Linked DNA regions of Homo sapiens: regions 1 and 3 are each linked to region 2. Evidence: promoter capture Hi-C in 16 types of primary human blood cells and fetal thymus (Javierre and others, 2016). All regions are on one chromosome and are shown on one strand. Each heading gives the region's core, a stretch centred on a gene start or on the middle of the fragment in contact. The rest is flanking DNA. Distances are from core to core; before and after follow the strand shown. Region 1 has its middle 43 kb from the start of ANO4. Region 2 holds the start of SLC17A8 (solute carrier family 17 member 8). Region 3 has its middle 110 kb from the start of ANO4.

Region 1 (3,123 bases), core at 409-2,908, 390 kb after region 2:
TTTTTCTTTTTAGACAGTCTCACTCCATCATCCAGGCTGTAGTGCAGTGGCATGATCTTGGCTCACTGCAACTTCTGCCTCCTGGATTCAAGCACTTGTGCCTCAGCGTCCCAAGTAGCTGGAATAACAGGCATGCACCAACACACCTGGCTAATTTTTTTTTTTTTTTTTGTATTTTTAGTAGAGACAGGGTTTCGTCATGTTGGCCAGGCTAGTCTTGAACTCCTGACCTCAAGTTATCCACCTGCCTCGGCTTCTCAAAGTGCTAGGATTACATGCGTGAGCCACCACACCTGGCCTAGATTCTGCATTTCTAACAAGCTTCCAAGTGATGCCCATGCTGTCAGTCATGGAGCTTGGGATTCAGTACAAGACACAGGTAACAAAAAATATTATACCAAATAATTTGTGGTCACTAACAGGCAGATGCTTTGAAGGATAGGAATAATCCTCTTCTTAAAGATTCTTGGCAATACTGTTTTTATCAAAACACGCCTCTGAGTTCCCAAAACAGTACTCTATAAAGAAAATTTTCTTTACCACCAGTTATAAGTGGGAAGTCTGCTTATGCCCTGTTACAGGAATATTATTTGTCTGTGATATATAAGTGTCCAAACGTTTCCACAGACATTGTTTTGATATTAAAAACCAAATGAAAATCCCAGCAACCATGGTACTGACTCAAGAGGGAGCTTAGCTGTCTTAGTTCTGGTTCTCTGGGAAATAGATTTTGAGCCAGAGATGTGCATGCAAGAAGTTTCCTGGGGAGAGCAGTTGGGATCCGTATGTATGGTGTGTGTGTGTGGTAGATGGAGGGAAGCATAACCAGGCAGAGGGAAGATATGAGCTGTGATGATGCACAAACATGGCCTCAGCCCTCACAGAGGGATACCTGGAGCTGGGACAGTCCTTCAACATTGTCCCACAACAAAGCTATTGTAACCTGCCATCATTGCCTGGATGCAAGCTGCCACGAGGAATGAATGTGACCCTGGGGAATTCTCTTTGCGGGCAGTTTCCCAAGAAAGATTCAGCCGAGAGCCATCAGCAGCTGGGGGTGTACCATGGGGCCCACAGCATCCATGACATCAGCTGATGGAAGTGAAGTGTTTAGAAAGATCTACGCGGGAAAGCAAGTGGGAGAGAATGGTGGAATTCTCAGTTTGACCGCAAGCATGGAAAATCTCTGCTGACCTAAGAAAAAGGCCCAGAATCTGAGCAGGTTTTCCAACCCCCAGGAACTGCTGAGTATCTGGATTCTGGTTCAGTTTGTAGTTCTCTCCAGCAAAGAGGCACCTAACAGATTGGGAAACACCCTCTGGTCACTATTCCTCCTGGTTATGTGGGTATATATTTTGGAAACTATGCAGTTTTTGTCTTTTTCAGGCAAATAAGGATACAACTGATTTGTGGTTGTAATTGGAGAATGGAAGAGTTGGCTCACTTTCCTTGTCCCAGGTCGTGTAACTCATATTCATTTATTCAGCAGCTATTTATTGAGTGCCTACTTTGTGCCCAGTACTACATTAGGTGCTGGGTGTACTGGAGTGACCCAAGCAGACAAGGCTCCTTTCTTATGGAATGGCAGTGGGATAGGCTAGTAGAAGAGAGAGATATGAAATAATCACCCAAATAAGGAAATTTCATTAGCTCAGTGAAGGCAAAGGACACTATTAGGGGGTGTATAAAGAGGGCATTTAATTTGGATTTTGAAGATGGGGAAAGACTGAGGATGTGGTAGTAATTTGAGAGAGATCTCAAGGATGTGTTGGAGCTGGTGAAGATATAGTTGGAATGTGGAATAGGAGACAAAGACCTGGCTTGTCTTCTCAGCTTTGTGACTTATCATGTTACCTTCACACTAAAGACTTAACTTCTTTGAGCCTCAATTTCTTCATCTGTAAAATGGTGCAGTTATAAGACTCAAATGAGATAAAATAGGCAAAGTGTTTTTCAAATCCTAAAATGTTAGCGAAAGCTACTTTTCCTATTAATTATTCTAGCCCATGGATTCCTTCTCTCCCTTCTCTTAACTGTCTCCTTCTCATATTTCCTGTGCTGGGCTTCGATGCTGAGGTTTAGTTAATAGTAAAATGCTATGTAGTTACCTTCTTTTAGCCTATGGCTTTCAACATTTTTGAACAATACCTAAAGTAAGAAATATTTATGTATTGTGACCTACTACTACTACTACTTCTCCATCCCTTCCTTCCTCCCTCTCCCTCTTACACACACACAAACCTGAAAAAAAATTTAAGGAAATAATTCTTATTATTTATTACATACTCTGATATTTTTCATTCCATTCCATTCTGTTCCCCAAAAACAACAAGTCAAGATCCATTAAACAGATGTCACTGCTTACGAAGGAATTGCAACTCATAATTTGAACAAGATTGATTTAGATAATATAATACCTGAAATCCTTTGGAAACCTTATAGGGGTCACGCAATCTTTTTTTAATGTGTGTGTGTGTGAGGTCTGTTGTACAAGGAAATTATTTCTCTTTGAGACTGATTATTAATGTTCATTTCAAAACATCTATGGTGCCTATGGCAATGAGACTGTCTCCCAGAGTTGGCAAAGATGTGATCCCTCAAAAGGGCTCTGTATTCCCTGCAGTTCTGACATCTCTGGAGTCAGTGAAGAACTGTGGCAAAGGATCTATATCCATTAACCATTATTATGATAATACTGAATAACAAACAACCCCAAAACCTCAGTGGCATACAGGATTAAGCATTTACTCGTTTATCTAGAATCAGCTGGGACTTGGCCAGAGCTCTGCTGATCTTGGCTGGGCTCACTCAGTATCTTGGAGTTGGCTGGCTCTTGGCTGATCTAGGTTGTCCTCAATGGGAGCAATTGGGATGACTCAGCTGTGCTCCATAAGTCTCTCCTCTTCCAGTAGGCACAGGAATGTGCTTCCTGGCACATTCTCATGACAGTGGTGGAAGTGCCAGAGAAGGGGCCAGTCCAATCATGCAAGCACTCCAAGCTTCTGATGGCAGCGTATTTGCTAATAGTTCATCAGCCAAAGCCATGCCACATGGATGAGCCCAAAATTAAAGATGGGGCAGAATGTCTTATTCTCAGTGGAACAACACTGCTAAGCCACATGA
Region 2 (3,318 bases), core at 6-2,505:
CCACTCCCTGCCAGGCTCTGCTAGGGCAGAGGACAGGTGATTTGGAGGCACAGAGGAGGGACATCTCACCTTGCCCATGCAGTTTTCTAGAGGATTGATATCTTAGCATGACCTTAGAACCCCTAGAAGTTACCCAGTTGAAGGGGTGCAGAGAGTTACCCAGGCAGAGGGCATAGCTTGAGTAAAGCCCAGAGGCAATAGGGAGCTTGCTGAGTTCAGTGAAATGAGGATGTGGAAAGCAGAGTGACAAGAAGAAAGACTTAGGGTCCCAGGGAAAGGCCTTGTGTGCCATGATAAAGAATTGTATTGTAAATAGTGCTGCAATAAACATACGTGTGGATGTGTCTTTGTAGTAGAATGATTAGAATACATGGATACAGAGAGGGGAACATCACACACCGGAGCTGGTCAGGGGTTGGGGGGCAAGGAGAGGGAGAGCATTAGGACAAATACCTAATGCATGTGGGGCTTAAAACCTAGATGATGGGTTGATAGGTGCAGCAAACCACCATGGCACATGTATACCTATGTAACAAACCTGCATGTTCTGCACATGTATCCTGGAACTTAAAGTAAAAAAAAAAAAGTCCATCTAGAGGGAGAAAAGGGGAAAAAACAAAAATAATTTTATTTATCCTGAGGACAATGAGGAGTCAGTGGAGAGTTCTAAGCAGGTTCTAGATATCTTCCGGCTCAGAAATCTTCAATTAGATGGTCCCAAATGGCATCTACGTATCATACTTTGAGAGAGCCTGCTCTGTTGATTAGGAGCAAATAAATGTCCTCCTGGATGTATGTGGCCTGGGTTTTGCATTTGGGCTACTCAAATGCAAGTTCCTCGTGGGACCACATCCATGCTAGTGGCTGGCTGAAAAACGGCTTCATGACTCTCATGAGGGGAATAAAAGGCATGGAGTGGTGGCTGTGAGCCTGTCTGCAGGGCCAGACCTCAGAAAAGCAAAGGGCTGTAAATGTTTCATAAATTTCTCTCTGGGTGCCTGCTCTGGCTGAGAGCCCATTCATAAGCCCAGGCGGCTGAGGGGCAGGTATTGTGCCGGTTACTATAGCATCACCTTGGAAAGTCTCACTTGGTGAGAGCGGCAGGCGAGCTGGGGTGGGGCAGGAGGGGGACGCGGCTGGCTGGAGGGGCTGGAGCTAGGCCACGGATACTGCTGCTGGTCTCAGGACTCCTGGTGGTCCGGAGCTCATGTTAGCGTCCCCAGCTGCAGCCCAGGGAGGGAGAGAGGCTGCGCTCAGTCTGAGAGTGGCTGCCTGAGACAGCTGCCACAGGCTGCTGCAGAGCGTGCAGCTTTTGCAAGGGACTGAATTCCCAGCCAGACACCCCTTGGACTCTTTTTTGGAGGGGTGGGGAGCAGAGAGAGGAGGGAGTTGTCTTATCTTGGAAGATCCGAGCTGGGTTTCATCTCCTTTTTGATTTTGAGTAGTTCCCTCCACGAGAACTGACTTCCAGGTGTTCACCAAGGGAAACAAGGTGGTTCTCACACTGGAAATGAGGAAGGATGACAGTTTTTGAGACTGACTGTTAACGGCTCAGAGGTGCCCCTCATTCAAAATGCCTTTTAAAGCATTTGATACCTTCAAAGAAAAAATTCTGAAACCTGGGAAGGAAGGAGTGAAGAACGCCGTGGGAGATTCTTTGGGAATTTTACAAAGGTAAAGTTTGAATGCGAACTTTAGTTCCTTTCTGAGTAGCTTCGTATTGCCAATGTGTGAGAGACTTGGTATCACGTTTTTAAAACCACACTTTAATGAGGAGAGGATGGGTCAGATTAGATCCTTCTGGAGCCCCTTCTAGCTCCAGTAGTCTATGCCTGGAGGAAAAACAGATGCATGAATAGTATTGGGTTGTATTAGGAAAAGATCAAGACAAATATGCTGTTTATATAGCTGGATTAGCACTTTCTGGAGATGATGATATTGCATATGGTATGTTTGGCATTGAATTAGAAAATATTTAGGGAGATAATATTTTATGTTAACTCATTAGTAATGACAAATATGCCTTGAACTGAAATAATTTTTATGTTTTTCACTGAATCCACTATAAATGAAAATTAAATATTTGCAATTTTTAGCTTATTTAATAAAATACATAAAGTGGTTCCTGATTGTATAGTTTGCAAAGAGAAGGATAGTTACACATTAATTTGAAGGAAGTAACTTAAAAAATGTCTTTGAAGCAGAAAATCTCACATAATTGCAGTGGGAAAATGTTAAGTACTATCACTGAATTGAATGAGATTTTAGTCCAAACCAAAAAGTAAATATTTTTTAAAGTAAAATATATTAATGGAAGGAGAGTTTGCTATAAATGATTGAATTAATGTGACAGTTTAATTTATGAATTTTTATAGACATAGTAAATGCCTTCTCAAATTATATAAATGATTTCATAAGTGGTCCTTATGTGCAAGGTAAAATGACTGCTTTATCTCTCTGATATAAATAAATGTGAAAAATAACTTTGATACACTTTTTATTTGTTTGGATGATTATTTCTAATCCTGGTGAGTGAAAATGCCATCTGGTGTGTCCTTTTAACTTTTCTATTATCTCTTAAATTTAAAAACTTTTTCATTTAAATGACTATTTCCAGGCAATCTGAGATTCATCCCATTTCTTGTGTTTTAAAACACATATGCTCCTGTCAGTGTTAAATTTTCCATGGTATCACTGTTAATATTAACTTTCCTAATAAGAAAAAAGAGTTGGACACCTTATTATTTTAGTAATTAGAAACAAAAAAGCTTCAATCAGACCTACACTGAATTAGCATGTCTAGATGAAAACCTAGCTCAGTGACAGCAGCATAAACCAGCCAAATATAGAAAAAATTACAATAACATTTTTTTCAGAGTGTTTTATCCTTCCGTTGAGCACTCCCCAGGTAACGTCTTATTGTGTTGGCGTTCATTTGATTAGAAACGCAAAAATAATTTTTGCATAATAAGCACGATAGCTTAATTGGCTTATTCAAGTAATGACAAAGGAATCTGGCAAAGTCAAGAATAAAAACCATAGGCCGGGCGCAGTGGCTCACGCCTGTAATCCCAGCACTTTGGGAGGCGGAAGTGGGAGGATCGCTTGAGGCCAGAAGTTCGAGACTAGCCTGGGGAACATAGAGAGACCATGTCTCTACAGAAATACAAAAAATTAGCCAGCATGATGGTGCATGCCTGTCATCTCAGCTTCCCAAGAAGTGGGAGTATTGCTTGAGCCCAGACATTCAAGGTTGCAGCGAGCCAAGATTGCGTCTCTGCACTCCAGCTAGGGTGACAGAGTCAGACTCTGTCTCAA
Region 3 (3,275 bases), core at 377-2,876, 330 kb after region 2:
TTATTAACATTTGACTCCTTGTTACTTATGCAAATTTCTGCAGCAGGCTTGAATTTCTTCCCAGAAAATGGGTTTCTTTTTTATTGCATTGTCAGGCTGTGAATTTCCCAAACCTTTATGCTCTGCTTCCTCTTCAACACTTTTCCGCTTAGAAATTTCTTCCACTAGATACCTTAAATTATCTCAAGTTCAAAGTTCCACAGATCTCTAGGGCAGGGGCAAAATGCTGCCAGTCTCTTTGCTAAAGCAAGAATGACCTTTATTCCCATTCCCTGCAAGTTCCTCATCTCCATCTGAGACCACATCAGCCTGGACTTCATTGTCCATATCACTATCAGCAATTTGATCAAAGCCATTCAACAAGTCTCTAGGAAGTTCCAAACTTTCCCACATCTTTCTGTCTTCTGAGCCCTCCAAGTCTCTAGGAAGTTCCAAAATTTTTCACATTTTTTCTGTCTTCTTCTGAGCCCTCCAAACTGTTCCAACCTCTGTCTGTTACCCAGTTCCAAAGCTGCTTCCACATTTTCAGGTATCCTCATAGCAGCACCACACTCTCTGCAGTATCAGTTTACTGTACTAGTCTGTTCCCATGCTGATATCAAGAATTGCCTGAGACTGGGTAATTTATAAAGGAAAGAGGTTTCATTGATTCACAGTTCTGCATGTCTGGGGAGGCCTCAGGAAACTTACAATCCTGGTGGAAGGGGAAGCAAATATGTCCTTCTTCACATGGCGGCAGGAGAGAGAAGTGCCACGAAAAGGGAGAAAACCCCTTATAAAACGATCAGATCTCATGAGAACTCACTCACTATCACAAGAACAGCAAAGGGGTAATCACCCCATGATTCAATTACCTCTCACCAGGTCCCTCCCATGACACATGGGGGTTATGGGAACTATAATTCAAGATGAGATTTGAGTGGGGACATAGCCAAACCATATGAAATGCTAATACATTAAACACTTCTCTCTTTCAGTGTACTGGCCCTTCTAAGGGGTGTTTGAATTTTAAACACCAGGCTCTAGAAAATAGTAACAAAAATCTTTAGTCAAAGGAAGATTTTGGCTTTGAACATTCCATATAATTATAGGCATATAGGTACAGAGTAACTTGGATGCTTTTGATAAGAAAATAACTATGGGTGATAGTCACTGAAAGCTTACTATGAGCAAAGCTCTGTGTCTAATATTTACATGATGTGGCAGAGATTATTAATTTCCCCCATTTTCCATTATTCAATGCATTTCTTTGATATTAAAAGAAATTCCGGTTTTTAGTTGGGCATGTGGCTTGCTAGAATAAAAACATTTCCAGCTTCCCTTTCAGTTTGAGTGGCCATATGCTTAAGTTCTGGCCAGTGGGTTAGAAACACAAGTGTCATGTGTAATGTTTGGGAAGTGTACTTAAAGAAAAGTGGCATGCACTTCTTTGTGCCTTCCTCCTTCCTGCTGGTTGTCCTGTATACATGACAGGGATGCTCAAGCAATTATCTTGGGCCATGAGGTGTGATGCCATGTGCTGGGATGGCAGTTGCCCATGCTGAGCTCTTCTAAATTCATCAATCATGTAAGTCACTCCTTCTTCTTTGGGAATCACAGAAAATCCCTGAGTTCTACCCTAATGGAAGTTCCACAAATGGAAACATGAGGAATGGGAAATCAGTTATCCAGTAATAGGAATTTTTTCTCTAATTTAATATGACTGGTAAAATTTATTTTTTTAAATATCACTTTTACTTTTGGAAACTAAAATTGAGTAATATAATAAGCGTACAGCTAGGACTTTAGTTCAAATCAACCTGTAAAATCATGTGTGTAATCACCATGCTATAGTGCACTAAGATCCCATTACTAATAATAGTATGCTGGTGAATATTTAGCTGGCAGGGGTTGGGAGGAAAAGCTCTGAATTTTAGTGTTTGCTGATTTCCTCAATGTAAATATTTCCACCAGGCTGATTTTAAGCAACCAACAATTCAGCAATAGGCTTGCAAAACTCCTGAAAATTTAGCAATCTCTTCTTGTGAGATTATATGAGCTAGCTCCAGGACACCTGTGAAATATACTTGGCTGAGCCTAAGAGACATTCCAGGCAAGCTTCAGGATGTCTCGGACTGTCTTTCCTATCACTCAGATTTTATGGGTTTGGCTCCACCTAGGATGACACCATGTCAGAGCTAGCAGAACACCTAGTGCACCCACATGATGTTGGTCATGAAGTGATTAAAGAGTAACAGCTTGACCAATGGCTTCTGAGGAAACTTAATGGAGCTACATAGGAAGTGCCATCACTTTCCTGTTCCTTTTTAATGGGCGATCCATTTTTGGAGAGACCACAAGTAGCAAATAACTCTTCTGGCCAAAGAGAGTTTAAAATGCTCCTCCTGCTGACAAAATGCAGAGAATGCCATCACTGGAGCTGAGGAAATACCATTTTGCCAAGAGAATTAGGGCTGGAGCATAAAGAGAAAGTGCTGTTGTCACAAATCCACGGTCAACACTTTACAGGCACGTTTAAGGAACTCAGTGCTTCCTACGGGAATCAATGGATAAAGACCCAATTCAATGAGAGCTGTAATTTGAGCAAGTGCTGGAGGAACAATTAAGACATTTAAAAAGGGGTCTGTGGTGACGAGGGCAATGTGGGATGCACAGATGAGGATATGGACAAAACCTGCCTTGAGAAAGCTCTCTTACCACATCCTTAGGAAGAAGGGTAGAAACTCTTAATGGAACCCACTGTGCATCCTTTGTAAAGTGCGGATGGTGGGTGTGTGCCAGAACTATAAATAGTTCTCCTGACATATTAGGTTCAGTTTCTCTCAATGAGTCATCTTGTTGACTACAAACATTCTTGAGCTAAAGAAGCTCTTCAGATTTGTTGAATACAGATACTCAATCTAGAGGACCCTGTGAGAGGCTGAGAGTCAAGGTTCTCCATGTTAGCAATATAGGACCATCAGCCCCAGCCCAGAATTTGATCTCACCTGAGGCCTAATCCTGTCTGTCTGCATTATGTAAGCAGGACATTTTTACCTTGCTTTCTGCTCTCCTTCACATGTCTCTGCTCCCTAAGAGAATCAGTTCCAAGGTCCTAGTGTTTTTGATCCAGCTCACTTTTCTTTGAATTTGTTTGCAAAACACACACTCTGTGGAGATTCTTTTGTTTTTTCCTTGTAGTAGCACTGTGCTGCTCCAAGGGCAGAGCTGTAGATGTCTTACATGCAAGTATTGGGGGATGAAGGTGTAATATTCACCTCTTAGTTCACGGACAA

Evidence for each region. The method cuts DNA at HindIII sites, captures the fragments that hold promoters and counts their contacts. A CHiCAGO score of 5 or more calls a contact.
Region 1: a fragment that was not itself captured here is called in contact with the fragment with the promoter of SLC17A8 in region 2 in 1 of 17 cell types (M1 macrophages); the score reaches 5.8 in M1 macrophages.
Region 3: a contact is called between a fragment that was not itself captured here and the fragment with the promoter of SLC17A8 in region 2, in 3 of 17 cell types (M2 macrophages, M1 macrophages and M0 macrophages). The highest score is 6.0, in M2 macrophages.

The regions. Positions count from the first base shown.
Region 1 is chr12:100,750,145-100,753,267 of GRCh38, forward strand. It overlaps a transcript of ANO4 not described here. Among named protein-coding and RNA genes, the nearest start is that of ANO4, 43 kb to the right of the region's middle. The HindIII fragment of the contact is 2,678 bases long and covers 320-2,997 here.
Region 2 is chr12:100,355,819-100,359,136 of GRCh38, forward strand. SLC17A8 (solute carrier family 17 member 8) reads left to right here and starts at 1,256. Exons shown (of 12, transcript NM_139319.3): 1 at 1,256-1,674. The coding sequence starts at 1,574. RefSeq lists enhancers at 706-1,206, 1,207-1,707. The HindIII fragment of the contact is 7,240 bases long and covers 1-2,766 here.
Region 3 is chr12:100,685,892-100,689,166 of GRCh38, forward strand. No RefSeq gene overlaps it. Among named protein-coding and RNA genes, the nearest start is that of ANO4, 110 kb to the right of the region's middle. The HindIII fragment of the contact is 938 bases long and covers 1,158-2,095 here.